Linked DNA regions of Homo sapiens: region 1 is linked to region 2. Evidence: promoter capture Hi-C in human tissues and cell types (Jung and others, 2019). All regions are on one chromosome and are shown on one strand. Each heading gives the region's core, a stretch centred on a gene start or on the middle of the fragment in contact. The rest is flanking DNA. Distances are from core to core; before and after follow the strand shown.

Region 1 (5,043 bases), core at 2,544-5,043, 450 kb after region 2:
GGAAAGAAAAGAAAAAAAAGAAAAGAAGAAAACAGGGAACTCAGTATAATAAAGTGCTTCTATGAAAAACTCAAAGTGAACATCATACTTAATGGTGAAAGACTGAATGCTTTGCCCTAAGATCAAAAATAAAACAAGGATGTCTACTCTCTTCATTTCTATTCAACATTGTACTAGAGGTTCTAGCCAGGACAATTAAGCAAGAAAAAGAAATTAGAAGCATGAAGATTAAAAGGAAAGAAACAAAAACATCTCTATTTGCAGATGATATAATCTTGTATATAGAAAATCCTAAGAAGAGCTTCCAGATAGCTGAACACATGGAGATTCCTGGAGGGTGGCGTGCCCAGGGAAATCATGGAAGCCCCTTCCCCCATACCTCGACCTACACATTTCTTCATCTGTATCCTTTGTAGTATAATAAACCAGCAAGTGGGCAGGTGCAATCTTAGTTCCTGCTGGATGAAAGGAATGATAAGCCAAAAACAAGTTGGGCTGCATGTCAGAAGGCATCTTTCCCCACTTTGCCTGCAGGAGCATCACATTAGAAAAACACACTTCACTCATGAAGGGGAAGCCTCAGGACCATGTGACCACCCTGAAGTCACCTTGACATGTTAGGGATGAATTTAGAAGAGGACAATGATGGGGTTCAGGACATGCAACCCCAAAATATGGCACCTTGGCATTTGAAAACATGGCAGAACCAGGAAGGTCACTCTCATCATTCCCTCTTCTCCCCAAAACAAGTTTCTCATTTTGAGAGGGACCCTCCCTATACCTAAAGGGAAGGAATATCCTTAGCTCTGAAGACACAAGGGACACAAAGAAGAATCTACACAAACACGCCTTGCTAAGTTCCCCCAGTTTATTACCATTAGATCATACTCTTTTGTCCTCCAATCATATTTCTCCACAACTGTCTACTCTCCATCAAACAGCATAAAAATACCCAGGTTTCCCTGTGTTTTTGTCTTCACCTCCATAGGAAGGCTCCCATGTCATGTAAAACTTATATTAAATAAACGTGTGTGCTTTTCTCTTGCTAATCTGTCCTTTGCTATATATGTCTCTGTCATTAACCTAGCAACATGTGAGAAAAGAAATCTTTCCTCTGTCCCCAACAACACTATCAATAAAGGCGAAACACTCCAAAAAAGAAAAAGAAAATAATAAGAAATCCACTAAAAAACTACCAAAACTAAGTAACAAGGTAAGTAATGTTGCGGGATACACGATCAATATACAAAAATCAGGCAAAGATCATTATTGGCCACTAAGACCAGAGAAGAGACACCCAGACATTAAGGGCCTCCTGATGGAAGAACATAATGCCATCTATGAAATTTTCTTGCAAAAAAAAAAAAATACCATGAAGCAGCTCAAGCCTCTGGATCTAACAGTTTGCAGGAAATAAAGAGAATGAAGAAATGTGTTAAACAACACCATGAGGATACAACTGGAAAAATCAAGAATGTAGGAATCTACAGACCAAACAACCCAGTTTCTTCAGCAAATAAATTGCAAGAAAAGAAAAATGAAAAAGGAGAAAGTGGGACCTATAGATTAAAGAATTTTAGGGGCCAGGTGGCTCCCTCCTGTAATCCCAGCACTTTGGGAGGCCAAGATGGGAGGATTACTGGAGCCCAGGAGTTTGAGACTAGCCTGGGCAACATAGCAAGACACCATCTCTACAAATAATAAAAAAAAAAAAATTAGCCAGGCATGGTGGCGCATGGCTGTGGTCCCAACAATTTGAGGCAGGAGGATCATCTTAGCCCACGAGGTCGAGGCTTCAGTGAGCCGTGATCGTGCCACTGCACCCCAACCTGGGTAACAGAGTGAGACCCTATGTCAAAAAAAAAAAAGAAAGAAAGAAATTTTTGAGTGTATCAACCAAATACAATTTATGGGCCTTATTTGGATTCTAGTTTGAAGGTATCAACTGTGAAAAGAAATTAATAATAGAGGGAAATTTGAATTTGCCTGGATATTTGATATTAAGCAGCTATGATTAATTTTCGTAGTTATTTTTAACACTTTTCTTTTAGAAGTGTATGCTGAAATATTTATGGATAAAAATGACCTTTGCTTCAGATAACCTTGTTCAGGATGGGGGTGTGTGTATATGAAACAAGATTGGTCACAAATTGATAATTCTTAGGTAATGGACACATGGGATCTCATTAACTTTTATATGTTTCCAACTTTCCTGATTATAAAAAACATGGAGCCAGCATCCCTGGGACCCACATTAATCAATTACAGAGGAAGACAGACAGCACACCAGGAAGGAGAGGAAGTCAGACTCTGGTTAAATATGATGATGAATAACCTACCATTGTTTCTGGAGAATGAGGTGAGAGAACAGCAGACTGGAATAATGAAAAGAGCTCTGACCTAGCACTAGGAGACCCAGATTCCAGCTTAGCCCCACTTCCCAGCTCATGAGCTCAGTCAAGACAAATCCCCTCTCTGAGCCTTGCTATCCTTACCTTTAAAATGGGACTGCAAATTAATGATCTCTACATTGTGGGGTTAAATTCTTCCTCCTTAAAATTTGTCCCAAATGATGGCTCTGGACAGTCCTAATGTTTTGCAGGACTCAGGATAAGTGTACAAAAACAGGTCTACTAACCATGTCTGAACATTTAAAAACTATAAATTAAGCTAACAAATTGTTAAATAAAACATGTTCTAACTTGCTACCTTGACCAGTATACCTTCATGATCTAGAAAGCCAGGTTCATTCAAAATCCACAGATTCCTTGAGGTTCCACACTAACATGCAGCACTAGAAGAACCAGCCCTCACTTCTCATCCCCATGATCCCATCCTTACTGGGAAAGGCAACAAATGCTGATACCCCAGTCTATCTGTCCAAGCTCTGGGCACATCCCTCTCCAAATACCCTCCTCTTACCCCCTTGAACCCAGCAGCACACACACTGGTGGGATAGTCCACTCTTGGGAGATGGACCCACAAAAGAGGCCTGCAGAAGCCATGGAAGTAGGCAAGAGGCCACTGGGCAGGGAATTCCAGGGTTCCAAATACCAGGAACAAAGTCTAAAAGGGGAGTCACAGACTCCAGCTAGGTGTACGTCCACTTGGCTCTGCAGATTTCTCTGCCGTGAGGGGCAGCACAGCCAGAACACCAGAGGACTTTCTAAAGCACGGGGCCAAGGGCCTTCCTTGCCCAGATCTAAGATACTGAATACATCAAAGTTTCATTATATTATTCTCTTTCCTTTTACGTAATTTTGAAATTTTTACATTATATCTTTTTAAGGACTAAAACATGAAAAAAAAAAAACCTCCAAAACCAAGTTAGAAGTTCTCTCAGACTCTGAAATTCTGAGCCTTTATGAGCATCACTGAAACTTTCCTGTGCAGACTCAGTTCCTTAGAAACTAGAGCTTTTTGCCGGGTGCGGTGGCTCACACCTGCAATCACGGCACTTTGGGAGGCTGAAGTGGGTGGCTCACCTGAGGTCAGGAGTTCGAGACCAGCCTGACCAACATGGAGAAACCCCCATCTCTACTAAAAATACAAAATTAGCCAGGCATGGTGGCGTATGCCTGTAATCCCAGCTACTCGGGAGGCTGAGGCAGGAGAATCGCTTGAACCCAGGAGGCGGAGGTTGCGGTGAGCCGAGATCATGCCATTGCACTCCAGCCTGGGCAACAAGAACAAAACTCCATCTCAAAAAAAAAAAGAAAGAAACTAGAGCTTTTGGCTGGGCACAGTGGTTCATGCCTGTAATCCCAGCACTTTGGGAGGCTGAGGAGGGAGGACTGCTTGAGCCTAGGAGCTTAAGACCAGCGACACAATGAACATTATTTGATAACAATGTAGATCCCATCTCCAAAAGAAACCATTTCTAGGGAATGAGAGGAAAATCTAGGGAGCATCATGGCAGCTCCCATGAGCCAAATTCAGCCTCCTACAACTGGAAACCTTTCAGAACTTCAGAGATAAGAGTGACCCAGAAAACAGATACCAAGAAACATCTTTCCCTTCCTCCTAGAAACAGAAAATAAGTCTTTTGATTGAAAAGCAGTTGTGTTTAATCACCAAAATTATTCTGACCCTAATGGAAAGGAAATAATCTAAATTTAAAAAGGCTGGGGATTTTTCTCCTACATTTATTTTAGAGGCAAGTAGAGGTGAACAAAGAAAATGGAATCCCTAAGCTCAGAGCTCAGGCCCTGGTAAAGGCTCCAGAGAGCAGAAGCCCCTCTCCTCTTGCCCTTATGTGAAACGTTGCTGCCCTCAGGATACCAGCCATCCCGCTTTGGAACACGGCTGCCCCAGGGGATGCCTTCAGTCTATTCCTCCAGAGGCTTCTCACTCTGCCCCAGAGGACTGGTCCTCCTCATCCTCATCATCAGTGTCCTGAAGAATCCTAAGTAGTTTGAGCTCAGAGTTCCAGCCTGTGCTAGCCATAATTTCTGAAAAGTTAAAGGAGATCTTCTTTTGCCTGGCAGCCTGGGCTTCTGGCACAGCGTCCACTGGAGCACTAATGTCCTTGTTAGTGGGTTCTGTTTCATACAATTCAGGACCTAAAAGAAGATGCAGTCATTAATTGCACCTGTAAACTCCTCTCAACTACAACAAATGGAGGACAGAAAAGGAAAAATGGGGTGTTTTTAGGACTTCTCTGAGATAGAGGAACTGTGCCTTCAGGGAGGTAAACTATCCTGGTCAACACAGGTTCAACTCTCCCTATCCTCAGTCACTTACTAAGGTTCCTCTACTCTAGTAACTTACTTTTTACACTGTGGTGGAAATCCGCATGGTCATAGTAGTTCATCTTTGGTCTCTCCGTGGAATCCTGAAATTCATTGGGGTATAAGGAAATTTGAATCAAGACTTTAGGAAACTAAAAGGATTTTTCTAAAAGATGCTTCTCTTGGAGAAATTAACATCTAAGATGAGCCAGAGACCCACCTCTTGGGACTGAAGAGAAGCTTTTACCACACGTTCTTTGCCCTCCATGCTGTCCAAATGAACCTAGAACCACTCCTTCCCATTCCCTGCAGT
Region 2 (4,661 bases), core at 693-3,192:
TTTTGCCCATCCCTCTTTTATCTTTTTCTTGTTAAGTCAGTAAAATTTGTGCATTTTTTTTTTTTGGTCACAAACCCCCCAAAATGATCAAGGCTAATGGATTTTTCCCCCTTTGAAAGTAATCAGGTTTTTGAAAAATAACAAATATTGATAAACTACCAACCCCACATCACAATCAAAGAGGCCTGAAACCAATCTAAATTTTTTTTAAGTAATAAATTTTTCAAATTGGAAGGGTGAACAAGACAGAAAAGGGAAAATTTTCTTCCTTACCAAGGATTCCTCAATCCTTGTCTTCATCAATTGATTCAGTTGCATGTCATAAAAAATGAGCTTCTGTGAATCCACTGTTAGTTTTTTCATAATAATGTTAATTATGCATATCTTATTTTAATGGCGGTCTCTCCTACAAATCTGTGGGCTACTCAATTTGTATAATGTATGAATTTACATTTTTTCCACTTAATATTGCTCAAAAAAGGTTCCTGACATTTTCTGGATAAAACAACAACAAAAAAGAAATGCCTAGACCTTTCAGGAAACAAAATCAGAAAACAGTCTTAATTATTCCATCAAAACAAAAAAAACACACACACACACAAAACCCAACAAATACAGAAAAAAAGAAAGAAAGGATTTCACTGTAACTTTTCTAGTTTCTGTTTTCTTTAGAATCTTAGGATTTAAATGCAGTAAAATGTAAATGCAAAATTAAAAAAAAAAAACTACAATTTTTGGGTGTGTCCAAAGCCAACATTTTAGGTTCTATTTTCTCTTTTAAATCCTTCGTTCGTGGAAATAGAAAAACTTTAAATATTGCCATATAGAGAAATTAGTCTTTTTTTGCCCGCTGAGCTAAACAAGTTCCAAATTACAATGAAGTACAATTTCTAATTGCTTCATAAAGCCAATTCTCTCAGTTTTCCCTAAACTCAACAATTTCCCTCCTTTCTTTATTCCAATTAGTTTTTTTCTCAAACTAAAATGAGTTGGGTACCCAAACTGACTTTGCTTTTAGGAGGTTTTTTGCTTTCTCCCCTCCAAGAACTAAATTCATTCAAATTCCAGCTTAATTTTCATTTACATATTATCTGGATTTGGCTTCAGAAATAAAAATTGTCTCCATGCTTCTGGAAAGATCAAAGTGAAAATTTTCACCCGAAAAAAGAAAAAAAAAGAATCTCTTACCCCTCCACTGCCTGGTAGTGCAAACTTTTGAAAAAATAAGAAATAAAAAATATTTCTTTTCAATTTTAATTTCTTTTTTATTTACAAAATAGTATCCTCTAGGTGGCGTCGTTTTAATGGGAAAAAACTACCGTTTGAAGAAAAATTAGAAAAAAAAAATTGAGAAAGGAAAATATGGCCTAAAAAAAAAGATTGTTGCAAAAATGGGGGACCTGGGGGGAAAGACCTCCCGGGGGGTCATCGGGGACCCCGAGCGCAGAGAGGGTCAGGGGAAAATTGCAAATTTGGGGGGGAGGGGGCAGAGCTGGAAGGGGTTGCATTTTTGCAAAATGTGAATTGTCCAAACTGAAATGGCTGCTCTGTTCTCTCGCCGCTTTGTTTTCTGGGCTCCGGTCCGAGCCCGGGGCCGGAGGGGGCGCTGGGTGGGGGCCCCAAAAGACCCCCTCGTCACCCCCACCCTCCTCGCACCCCGCAGCGCCCGGGGGGGTGCTCTCCGGACCCCGACCCTCCCGATTGCGCCCACAAAAAGCCCGCAAACGTGCCCAGGCACTTTGCATTTTGCAAATCTTGCAATGAAGTGGCGCAGCGCCCCGGGCCCCGGCCCCCCGGGGTCCCCCGCGCGGTGCATGCCCCCGGCCCCCCGTCGTACCTGCGGAGCCGCCGCGCCGCCCGGCTGGTTCATGGGTCCGTGCGGGAGGAGGCGGCCCCGGCGCGTCCTGCTCCTCCCGGGCCGGGCTGCTGGTGCGCGCACAATGCCGCCGCCGCCGCCGCCGCCGCCGCCGCCGCTCCCTCCTCCGCCCGCCCCGCTCAGGCCGGGGGGGCGGGGGCGCTGGGGGCGCGCGGGGGGGGCGCCGGCCCTCGCCCCCACCCCCGGCCCGCACCGGCCGCGCCGCGGCAGCCGCTGCCGCCGAGCCGCCCCTCGCGGGGCCGCCGCCGCCCCCCGCCGCCCTGCCCGCCCCCGGGCCGGCCTCGCCGTGCGGCCCGCGAGCTCGGGGCCTCGGCCTCGGCCTCCGCGCTGCCGGCCTCCGCGTGGCACACAAAGCCGGCCGGTCCAGGGGCGCGCCCGCCCTCCCGTCCGCCAGCCCCAGTGCCGCGGCACACCCGCCCCCCCAAACTTTCCCGCGCCGCGCCCTGCCCTCCCCGCGCCCCCCGCGCCCGCTCCCCGGCTCCCTTCTGCCCTCCCCCAGTCCCCCAGCCCCTCGGAAATGTCATTTTCACGCTGGAAAAAAAGTTCAGGGAGCCGGCTCTCGGCGGAACGCAAGAGGTTAATGGGAACTCTGTACCCCGCTGTACCCCCCCGCCAAAAAAAAACCAGATTGATTTTTGAAATAAAAGTTTTCAAGAGCTGGCTTGCTGGAAGACTGGAAGGCTTATTGGGAATATTCTATTGCCCTGCCACTCCTCCCAAAAAAACTAATGTAATAAAATAAAAGTTTGAAGGACTGGCCCCATGTCCGACAAGAGTGGTTAAGGGGACTCTAGCCCCCCAGCCAGACTGATTTTTAAAATAAATACTTGAGGAGCCGCTTTTATGTGAAATGCCAGTGAAGCGGCTGTTTCTGCCTATCCTTGCCAAATTAAAATATATATATGTATTTCTAAATAAAAGTTTGAAAAACTGGTCCTACAGTAAGACAAGAGGGGTTAAAGGTTAAGGGATATTAGCGCCCCCCACCCCCATATCCCCCAGTTAGGTTGATTTAGAGAAGGAAAATTTGAGAAACTTGCATGTGAAATAAAACGTGAACCAGGATATTTCTTTCCAACACCCCAAAATAGCCAGTTTTTTTGTTGTTGTTATTGTTGTTTTTTTTTTTTTAACTTGAGCAACTGCCTCCTTGTGACTTGGGAAAGTTTAAAAGGGATTTTTTTTTCTATTCTCTTCCCTATTCTCCTAAAAAATCCGATTTTTTAAAAATTGAAAGTATGAAGGACCTGCCCTATTATAGAGACAAGGAGGGATTACTGGATCCATCCTACATCTCCCACAACTGGTTGATTTTTGGAATAAAAATGTTAAGAATTGCTCTTCTATGAGATGCAAGGTGAACAGAAATCCTTCTTTGCCCCTCCCCAAAAGAAAACTGCAAGGGTACTTTTCAAAAATAAAAGCATTGGAAATTAAGAGTAACCAGGTATCTTCTCTCTGCCCCCACCTTCAAAAATCAAATGTTCTTTTTTGTAATGTTTAAAGAACTGGAGCAATATGAGACAGGAAAGGTTACAGAAATGTTTTCCCTACAATCCTCAAAAAAGTTATTTTTAAAATTTTAGGAAACGGAGGCACTGTGTAGAAGACACCTCCTTTCCCTAATAAGTTAAATTGGGAGTTTAGCCCTATATGGGAGACATGAAATTAAGAAACACAACTCTTGCCCCCCTTAACAAACACTCATAACACAAGACGTTAAAAGGAGTCTTCTGGCCGGGAGTGGTGGCTCACGCAAATAATCCTTTTGGGAGGCCAAGGCGGGTAGATCACGAGGTCAGGAATTGGAGACCAGCCTGGCCAACATAGTGAACCCCTTCTCCACTAAATATACAAAAATTAGCCAGGTGTGGTGGCACACACCAGCCAGTAGTCCCAGGTACTCAGGAGGCTGAGGCAGGAGAATTGCTTGAACCCGGGAGGCGGAGGTTGCAGTGAGCCGAGACCACGCCATTGCACTCCAGCCTGGGTGACAGAGTGGGACTCCGTCTCAAAAAAAAAAAAAAAAGAGGAGTCTTCTAACCACTTCCTCCCAGACCCCTAAAAGTTGGAGATTCCTTAAAAATTGAAATTGAAAGTGGCCATTTTTCTCCCCACCAACCTGGTAAGTATGTCCCTGCCAGAGGTTTGGCAGCCTCTGCCCAGGCTGGTGTGCAGCAGGCACCAAGGTGAGTAGGGGCAGCTTGCAGAGCATGGCAGAGTTGGGTCCTGTGAGCCCTGAGCATATGTGCTGGGCAGGCAGCCCCTAGTCCACCTGCCCCTCATCCACCAGGTGGTTGGGGCCTTGTTACCTGGAAAGATGCTCCCAGATTTGATGTCTGTCTGGCTCGATCCTTGTGTGAAGGTTTCTGGGCACCTGCCTCAAGGCCGGGTCCCCGCCTCTGCCTAGTAGAGCCAAGCCTGATCTTAGGCCTTAGAGTAGAAACTAGATCCAAAATGACATGGGGTCTCAGTCACCACAGCTGAAAGCTGTATGGTACCAAGGAAAAACTCCTGCCCTGGGAGTCGGGAAAACTTGATACGATAATTATTCATTTGAGCACTTACTATGTGCCAGGTGCCTTGTATCTAGTAGGACAGACACACACCATGAAGAGGAGAACTATTTGCAGCAGCTCTTCTCAAATGCAAGTGATCCTTGGAATCAGCAGGAGAGCCTATTCAGATTGCTGAGCCCACCCCAGAGTTTTGAATTCATTTGGTCTAGGTTAGGCACCAAGAGTTTGCATTTCTAATGCGTTTCCAGGTGATGCTGATGTTGCTG

The links. Contacts are between HindIII fragments. The study calls those that stand out against the background at their distance.
Region 1: a contact is called between a fragment that was not itself captured here and the fragment with the promoter of ZNF618 in region 2, in 1 of the 25 tissues and cell types used here (aorta).

What each region holds. Positions count from the first base shown.
Region 1 is chr9:113,428,691-113,433,733 of GRCh38, reverse strand. It overlaps C9orf43 (chromosome 9 open reading frame 43), which reads right to left. Exons shown (of 14, transcript NM_001278629.2): 13 at 4,771-4,834; 14 at 4,044-4,562. The coding sequence ends at 4,348. Among named protein-coding and RNA genes, the nearest start is that of C9orf43, 20 kb to the right of the region's middle. The HindIII fragment of the contact is 8,820 bases long and covers 1-5,043 here.
Region 2 is chr9:113,873,590-113,878,250 of GRCh38, reverse strand. It overlaps ZNF618 (zinc finger protein 618), which reads right to left and starts at 1,942. Exons shown (of 15, transcript NM_001318042.2): 1 at 1,838-1,942. The coding sequence starts at 1,870. RefSeq lists enhancers at 3,518-4,018, 4,019-4,519. The HindIII fragment of the contact is 30,531 bases long and covers 1-4,661 here.